Linked DNA regions of Homo sapiens: region 2 is linked to region 1. Evidence: promoter capture Hi-C in 16 types of primary human blood cells and fetal thymus (Javierre and others, 2016). All regions are on one chromosome and are shown on one strand. Each heading gives the region's core, a stretch centred on a gene start or on the middle of the fragment in contact. The rest is flanking DNA. Distances are from core to core; before and after follow the strand shown. Region 1 holds the start of LINC01430 (long intergenic non-protein coding RNA 1430). Region 2 overlaps OSER1-DT (OSER1 divergent transcript).

Evidence for each region. Contacts are between HindIII fragments. The CHiCAGO score rates a contact against its expected background, and 5 or more counts as called.
Region 2: a fragment that was not itself captured here is called in contact with the fragment with the promoter of LINC01430 in region 1 in 2 of 17 cell types (erythroblasts and megakaryocytes); the score reaches 8.1 in erythroblasts.

The regions. Positions count from the first base shown.
Region 1 is chr20:44,448,456-44,453,002 of GRCh38, reverse strand. LINC01430 (long intergenic non-protein coding RNA 1430) reads left to right here and starts at 2,446. Exons shown (of 3, transcript NR_109893.1): 1 at 2,446-2,466; 2 at 2,913-3,043; 3 at 3,949-4,226. It overlaps LINC01620 (long intergenic non-protein coding RNA 1620), which reads left to right. Exons shown (of 3, transcript NR_132343.1): 3 at 830-1,019. The HindIII fragment of the contact is 11,098 bases long and covers 1-4,547 here.
Region 2 is chr20:44,213,173-44,217,719 of GRCh38, reverse strand. It overlaps OSER1-DT (OSER1 divergent transcript), which reads right to left. Exons shown (of 3, transcript NR_038339.2): 2 at 2,717-2,832. Among named protein-coding and RNA genes, the nearest start is that of OSER1-DT, 4.5 kb to the right of the region's middle. RefSeq lists a silencer at 2,410-2,499. The HindIII fragment of the contact is 6,345 bases long and covers 1-4,547 here.

The sequences.
Region 1 (4,547 bases), core at 1,197-3,696:
AATCCTGGCTTTACTACTCAGGAGTTGTGTGAACTCAGGCAATTACAGAACCTTTCTGTGCGATTGTATAAAGAGAGATGTTAATATTTACCTTGCTGGGTTCTTATAAAGATTAAATGAGCTAATACTTGTGAAGTCAGTGCCTGGCACAAAATAAGTATTCAACATATATTGTTTGTTTATTTATTTATTTATTTTGAGATGGAGTCTCGCTCTGTTGCCCAGGCTGGAGTGCAGTGGCACGATCTTGGCTCACTGCAACCTCTGCCCGCTGGGTTGAAGCGATTCTCCTGCCTCAGCCTCCCAAGTAGGTAGAATTACAGGCATCTGCCACCACTCCCAGCTAATTTTTGTGTTTTTAGTAGAGACGGGGTTTCGCCATGTTGGCCAGGCTGGTCTCATACTCCTGACCTCAAGTGATTTGCCCGAGCCAGCCTCCCTAAGTGCTGGGATTACAGGCGTGAGCCACTGTGTCGGGCAGCTAGCTATTTATTATCTTTAAAATTAGTATGGGCAAGCTGATCATTTGACCTGCTGGGGTCACCAGCCATCCTAATCCGCTGAGACTGAGGGAGAGTTTCAGGACACAGGACTTTCAGAGCTAAAACTAGACAAGTCCTGGGCAAAAGAGGATGAGTTGGTCACCCTAGCCCTGCCTGATGGTAATATTTCCCTCCAGTTTAACAGACTGACCTTTTACTTGTATTAAATTACAGGTTTGATGTTGAAAATGATATTTGCACTACGTATTGTAGAACCCCTCTCAAGCATCCCTATGATATAATTTCTGCAAAACACTAATCTTGCTTATATTTTCCTCACGTTACAGATTGGGAAAGTGAGGCCCAGGGGTGCAAACCAGTCCAATATTAGCGGCAGAGCTCTTCCCTAGACCCGTCTTGAAGCTGCTGCCCCATCATTTCCTCCAGGTAGCTGGTGGATACTGTTTATCTGGTGCTCACTATGCCCTAGGTAACACTGTAAGTGATTTTCATTAAATTTAATCTCATTCAATCTTAGGAGGTGGGTTCTACCATTATAACCATTTTAGAGACGGGATGCTCATAGTTGTCTTCTGTCCCACTCACCCACCCATACCCCTGGGACTAGAATTCATTCATTTGGTACATCTTTGCCTGATTGTGGTTTCCTTGGAACTTTTGTTACAGGGAAACTCACCAGGGTTTCCTGGGTCTTGTTTAGCCATTGAGCCTAACCTTCTGTCTGTTTTAAGACTTTTTTTTGGGGGGGGTGGGGGGGACAGAGTCTTGCTCTGTCACCCAGGTTGGAGTGCAGTGGCGCAATCTCAGCCCACTGCAACCTCCACCTCCCAGATTCAAGCAGTTCTCCCTGCCTCAGCCTCCCGAGTAGTGGCTTGGGATTACAGGCGCTCACCACCATGCCCAGATAATTTTTTTTTTTTTTGGTATTTTTAGTAGAGACAGGGTTTCACCATGTTGGCCAGTCTGGTTTCAAACTCCTGACCTCAGGTGATCCACCCACCTTGGCCTCCCAAAATGCTGGGATTACAGGCGTGAGCCACTGAGCCTGGCCTTGTTTTAAGATATTTTTAAAGGACCTTTTGTTTCAATTGGCAAATGTCTGCTGCTCTCCTACTACTGGGGCTACGTGGTGACTGACAAAGAGACTTTGCCCTCAAGGACTCGAGGCTGCTGGGGAACCCCGCTCACCAGGGTCTCTCTCCACTGCACTATGGCCAGCTTGAGGGCAAGGATGGGGTCTTTTCATCTCTGTGTCACTAAGAGGAGATCAACAGCAGGTGTGGAAACTGGCAGATCACACCACAAAGCAGAGAGGCCAGCAGGAGTCCAGAATCCCAGCCATGAACTGTCGGGCTTCAGGCAGGGAGCAGTGGGAGACCCAAAGTCTCCGTGCTATTGATATTTGGGGCTGGCTAATTCTGTTGTGGGGGATGTCCTGTGCGGAGTAGGATGGTTAGCACTATCTGTTGCCTCTGCCAGTAGCATCTTCTCTACCAGTCATGACAACCTAAAGTGTCTCCAGACATCACCGAATGTCCCCTGGGGGCAAAGTCACCCCAGATTGTGAACCACTGGCTTAACTGAAGCAAACTTAATGAAGGAAGTGTTTGCAGAGGTGAGGCATGCAGGGACTGGCAACAGTGGGGAGCTGTTAGCACCCCAAGGCCAAAGAGGTGAGAGAGAGAATGGTGTTACTTGACCCAGAGATAGCTGGAGCCATATAAGTGAGGCTAAGACAGGAGTTAAGACCATGGAGAAATTCAGCCACTGCCAAAATTAAGGCAAAACAGGGAGGGAGCTGGGGGTGGCATAAACATGCCCAGTTCTCCCTCATCCTGCCCTTTTATCTCTGCCGATTCCTCCCCTTGGCTGAATGTATTGTGATGTCAGAAGGCACAGGTGCCTCCAGGCCACAGAGCAGGACAGACAGGGTTGGAGATTGGACCACTCGTGTGTGGATGAGGTGGGTAAGCAGAGAAGAACCATCACAGGGAGGCAGGAACAGGCCCCAGAAGACAGGACATTTGTGTACTTCTTGGAGGACGTGTACTTCCCCAGTTGGAGAAAGCTGGGAAACAGTATCTCACCAGCAGGAAGAGCAGGCATGAAGCCATGGAGCTCTGAGACAGCCTGGCTCCCTGCATTGTTTATTTAATTGTGATTGTTTGTTTGATTGATTCTGCTCTGTGTGCATGTGGTGAAAGTAAAACATTTCAAAAGGTACAAAAGGGCATAAAATGAGAAGTAGGTCTTCCTCCCACCCCGACCCCAGCTACCCAGCCCCCCAACACCCACCCCGAAAGCCATCTCACTCTCCGGTCTCTCATCGCCTTCCGGAAATAGTTGGTGCACATGCTAGCTTGTGTCACTTAAACTCCTAATTTGATTTAATTTCACGGGTGTTTACAGAGCCCCTACTGTGTGCAAAGAAATGAACTGAGCTCTCTGGCCTCACACCCTAAGCCCAACCCTGATCCACTAAGCACTGGCAGCTTCAGGCCCACCACTGCTGGCCTCCCATCTCTTTCTCCAAGCAACGGGTAAGCCTGTCACAGTTATGTTGTTCAATTTATTTTATTTTATTTTATTTTATTTTTTGAGGTGGAGTCTTGTTCTGTCACCCAGGCTGGAGTGCAGTGTAGCTATCTCAGCTCACTGCAACCTCTGTCTCCCGGGTTCAAGCGATTCTCCCACTGCAGCCTCCCGAATAGCTGGGATTACAGGCACCCGCCACTACGCCCTGCTAATTTTTGTGTTTTTAGTAGAGATGGGGTTTGACCATGTTGGCCAGGCTGGTCTTAAACTCCTGGCCTCAAGTGATCCACCTGTCTCGGCCTCCCAAAGTGCTGGGATTACAGGTGTGAGCCACCATGCCCGGCTTCAATGGATGTTTTGTGGATTGGACTGAATTAAAACTGAACCATTGGTGAGAAGCAAATTAGAATGCAGGAGACACATAAACCTTGGGTGTGGTTCAGGAGACCATGTGTTTTGGGGAGAGGAGTGAGGGTTCTGTCTCCAAAGACTTGCTCTTGCTGGAGCCAATGGACAGTTAGTTGTCTAAGAAGGGAATGCCTATAGTGTGACCTAGAGGGGGCGCTAGAGTGTGAGCAGGTTGGGACTTGATCTGGCTTAGATCAGTCCAGGGAAGACCAGATCTTGCCTGGCTACCCCCAGCTGGTGTCTGTAGCCCTTGGGGGAGTTTAAGACCAGGAAAGGGGAGTTTCTGGCCAGCTGCAGAAATGGGGAATTCCACAAACAACATGTAAACTTGTCGGTACCCGGAAGCAAACAACCAAATCTGGGTATCAGATGCCCAGGCAGAAGCCGGGAGGCCAGAGCAGCCCAGGTCTCCAGGAGCAGACAAGGACCAGGCTCTTCCTTGCCTGCCCTGCTCTTCCCTGCTGATGTCTTGTTCTCTCAACACCCGGCTCTTTCCTGACAGTGCCTGTGTGTTGAGCACTTCCAGACAAACACGCCTGCCATGATGGACCACATTTCTGTGCAGATGCTGAGTACACACCGTCTCCCACTCCCACGGCTGCTTTGCAAGGACAGTGTTAATGATCCTCACTTTGTAAACAAGGAAAACTGAAGCTCAGAAAGGAGGGATGGAGGGCGGTAAGGTTGGGCATCCTACACATATGGTGATATCATTGAACATTTTGTGTTGAAGAATGATGGAGTGTTGAACACAGAATCAGAGAATTTTACTTTATTTTATTTTTTGAGAAGGAGTCTCAATCTGTCAACCAGGCTGGAGTGCAGTGGCGCGATCTCGGCTCAGGGCAACTTCCACCTCCTGGGTTCAAGGGATCCTCCTGCCTCAGCCTCCCGAGTCGCAGGGATCACAGGCATGTACTACCAGGCCCGGCTAATTGTTTTGTGTTTTTGGTGGAGACGGGGTTTCACAATGTTGGCCAGGCTGGTCTCAAACTCCTGACCTCAAGTGATCTGCCCACCTTGGCCTCGCAAAGTACTGGGATTACAGGCATGAGCCACTGTGCCTGGCCAAGAATTTTAGAATCATAAAATCTAGGAGTC
Region 2 (4,547 bases), core at 1,482-3,981, 240 kb after region 1:
CCAAAAGCCCCTCTCAACACTCCCTTCCAATCCTTACCACATGGAGATTCTTTCTTCTGCAGCTTTATTTCTTGATTCTATTCTAAAGGCAAGTGATCCACAAATCCCGGGTCTTCCACAGTTTTGAAGCCACAGTGAAGGGCTTCACCAACGGTAAGGAAAGAGGCCCTGCAGTCCTAGGGCTCCCTCTGCTGGTGATCAGCAGCTACCAGGAAAAGCTGCCCCTCCCCTCCTGGAGCTCTGAGGATTGACTGGAGTCTTGGAAATCAAATTGGTGCAGGCTTAATGGGAATCGGCACACAGGCGCATGGCTGAGGCATCAGAGTCCTCCTTTACCTCCTTTACTCTCCATCCTGTTAACATTTCGGGAAAGCAACTATCAAAACAATAGACCACAGTAGCTTGGGGGCTATGAAGAGAATGACAAGAAAGAGCGGCGAATTCCCGCTTCCCAACCCTTGCCTATTCCCCATCCACAAAAACAGGAGGCTGTTGTGAAAGGTCCTGCTGCTTGAATCAACTGTCAAAGGCATCAACAGTCCCCAGTCATGTTTCCAGAAAGCCAGTAGACAACTGGAATTATTTGCTGAGATGACTGACTGACTGATGGACTCACTGGCTCCTGTGGTAGGTACAGCTCCTATTCTGGTGGACTGCATGCGAAGTCCCATGGGACAACGGGGTCGGGCCATTTAACACACACAGGGGAGCAGGAGTTGAGGGAGGGAAAGTCAACATAATAGGTTTTTCTTGCCCTCCAGAAATTTAGAATCTAGCAGGAGATACAAGAAATGTACGGGTAAAGGGCTGAAAATAAGTTCAGGAGGGACCTGAAGAAGCTCCAGGTGAAATGTTACTGTGGTCGTAGAGACAGGGAGGGGACCTGAGCTGACGAAGTGGACGGGTGGTAGACAGAGGAGCTGGAGGCTCTTCAGTTGTAGGGAGGGGCAAAAAACAGATGCCCAGAGAAGCCAACAGGCCCCCAGTGGACTCTCATGGTAGAAGAAAGTGGGGAGGATCACCACCATTGAGGCAGGTCCTTAGGGCTGTGGCTCCAGGAACTCCATTTTGTCAGGGTACCCAGAGCCAAACAAATTCTGCGGGATGGACTATCTGTTGACTGAAGATCTATAAGCCAGGTGCAGTGTATTCATTTGCAGAAAGGACTATGTCCTTCCCACAACTGGAATGCTTGTGTTTGCCTTCCAGGGCTCCCTTGTTTCTTTCCTCTGATTATCTCCCACCCTCTCCTTAAGGGTCCTGACCTTTCCTGTGGCTTCAATGGCCACCTGTATGCAGACTCCACAGTCTTTATTTCCAGTCCCCACCTCCCATGTGAGCTTCAGAACCATATATCTGCATGCCTGCTAGACACCTCCACGCGGCTGCCCCACGGATCTCTCAGGTTCACTCTGTCCAAACTGAACTAATTTAGAGATATATCAGCACAGAGAGGCAGTGACAGCACAGACTCTACCAAGCTGCCTAGGTTCAAATTCTAGCTCTGCCACTTGTTAGCTGTGTGACCTTGGTGAGTTACTTAACTTCTCTTTGCTTCAGTTTCCTCATCTGGAAGATGAGTGTGATAATGGTAATCTCATAGAATTGTGGTGAGAATTAAAATGAGTCTTCTGATGCATAGGAAGAGCTATGAAAGTATTAGCCCTCATAGGCTGGGCATGGTAGCTCATGCCTGCAGTCCCAGCACTTTGGGAGGCTGAGGCAGGCAGATCACTTGAGGCCAGGAGTCCGAGAGCAGCCTGGCCAACATGGCAAAACGCTGTCTCCACAAACAAACAAACAAACAAAAATTAGCCAGGCATGGTGGCACACGTGGGTGACTAAGGCAGGAGAATCACTTGAATTAGGGAAGCAGAGGTTGCAGTGAGCCAAGATTGCACCACTGCACCCCAGCCTGGGCAACAGAGCAAGACTCTGTCTCAAAAAAAAGAAAAGAAAAGGAAAGAAATAAAAGAAAGTATTAGCTGTTACTATGATTCTCCATTTAAATGTTCTTCCTCTGCTCACTGTCAGCTGGGTTCAACAGAGTTTAATTGAGATGGGCACCAATATCCATTCAGTTGCTCAAACTGGAAAGCAAAGTATCATTGTCAGCTTTCTCTCACTGCCCATCCTGTTCGTAGTCAATCTCTCCCCAAGGCCTGATCTACGCAACTTTCCAATCGGCTCACTTGTTCTCCATACTTAGGGCCACCTGCCCCTTCGATCACCATCATCTCAGGCCTGGATCACCATGCCGGCTCACGCTGAAACCAGTCATCTTTCTAAAATAAATTTGGTCATTTCTTTCCATAGCTCCTACAGTTCTCAGAAGGAGAAACCTCAGGATAAGTCCCTTGCTGCAGCCTTTGGGACCTGATTCCTCCTTTCATCTGCACTTGAAACTTTTATGTTCAAAACCAAACCGTCTCACACTCCCCAAACCTAGTCTTCTTGGATTCCCTTCCTTAGTGAAGGGGGCCACCTACTGGCACGGCTCAGGCCAGACATCTGCTCAGCAGGCTGCCGAGCCCTGCTGGTCTCACCATCCTTCAGCCATGGTTCCCATTCTGGTCTTCCCTCAGATTATTTCGAGTGTCTTCTAACTGGTCTCTCTTACATTCCCCACCCTCCCCATCTACTTTCTAAGAGTCTGCTGGAATGATATAAATTGCTACTAAAAATACAAAAATTAGCAGAGCATGGTGGTGCTCACCTGTAATCCCAGCTACTGAGGAGGCTGAGGCACGAGAATCAGTCGAACCTGGGGGCGGAGGTTACAGTGAGCCAAGATTGTGCCATTTCACTCCAGCCTGGGTGACAGAGCGAGATCTCAAAAAAAAAAAAAAGGTTTCAATAGTTTCTGGCACACAACACTCAATGCCTTCCTTTAACAAGTAATTATTGAGAGCCAACTATGTGCCACATAGAGTTCAGGCCTTGGGGATACACTGTATTTTCATCAATTCTAAGACACCATCATTTTAAAGACTCACCACTTACTGTAGGAACAAGTAAGAAAGAAAAAAATACTACCAATTAAACCAGGACACACTGGCGATTATAAGACACATTCAGATTTTCTAACCGCTATTAATAAATTGTGGGAAAATGTGCATCTTTGATTAAAAAAAATAGTGACTAAAAAAAAGACACAAAGTCCCTGTCCTCGGGTAGCTTCTATTCTAGTGAGGGGACCAAAAAATAACTATACATTGTCAGGTAGTGACAAGTGCTATGATAAAGCAGGGTAAAGGGATACACAGTGAAGGGGGTGCTGGGGAAGCCAAGGAAGACCCCCCTGGGGAGCTGATATGAGCAGAGACTTTGAATGACAAGATGAACTGTGAGTAAACAATGCTCCAGGAGGGGAAATACATACAAAAGACCTGAGAGGGAAATATGCCTGCTGGGTTCAAATATATGCAAAGAAAGAGTGGCTGGAACAGTCCTAGGCCCTGGGCAGCCAATTTCCTCAAACCCAGTGGTATTTTCCAGGTGAAAGCAGGTATCCCTGGTCTAGCTGGGTACATACAGGAGGTGAAGGTGGGGAGGCTAAGGAAAGCAGTGTAACTCAGCGGTCAGCAGGGTGCTATAGTCAGACTGCCTAGATTGGAATCCCCGTTCTACCACTTACAAACTATGTAACCTTGGACAAGTTATCTAACTATTCTGAGCCTAGTTTCCTCAGCTGTAAAACAGACATCATAGAAGTACATTTCACAAATTGGTTATGAAGATTACATGAGCTAACATCTTGTAAATCAAGACAAATAATCATTATCACTATCTTCTATCCCAAAGTCATTTTAATTTAATTTTATTTTTTTTTTTGAGACAAGGTCTTGCTCTGTAGCCCAGGCTGGAGTGCCGTGGCATGATCTCAGCTCACTGCAACCTCCACCTCCTGGGTTCAAGGGCTTCTCATGCCTCAGCCTCCAAGTAGCTAGGATTACAGGTGTGTGCCCACCACTCCCAGCTAATTTTTGTATATTTATTTATTTATTTTTCAGTAGAGATGGGGTTTCACCATGTTAGCCAGGCTGGTCTCGAACTCTTGACTTCAGGTGATCCACCTGCCTCAGCCTCCCAAAGTGTTGGGATTACAGGCGTGAGCCACCACGCCTGGCCTACCCTAAGTCATTTAAAAAAGTATATCGAGGTAAGAAATAAATTAATTTGAGTCTTAAAACATAAGAACAGAATATTTTCCAGATTACCAACTGGTAGGATGGCAGCCACATGGTTAGGCAAATAATTTTCTTTATTACTTTGGACTTGGCTTCTCCAAAGTTATTTTTTAAGAGAAACTATTATCTTCCTATATAAATTGTTCTTGCAGTATAAATTCATGGAATTAAGTCTCTCTTACTAAAGCATGTACAAGACACTTGTAGCAAGAAAGAAGCACTGTTAGAGGAATTTTACATCTACCACAGCTTTTTAATTAAATGGCATTACCATGTGCATTAATACAAAGTTGATTTCTTCAATATAAAGTCCACACACAAATTCAGGTTTTTTTCCCATGGTTAAAAAGACTTGGA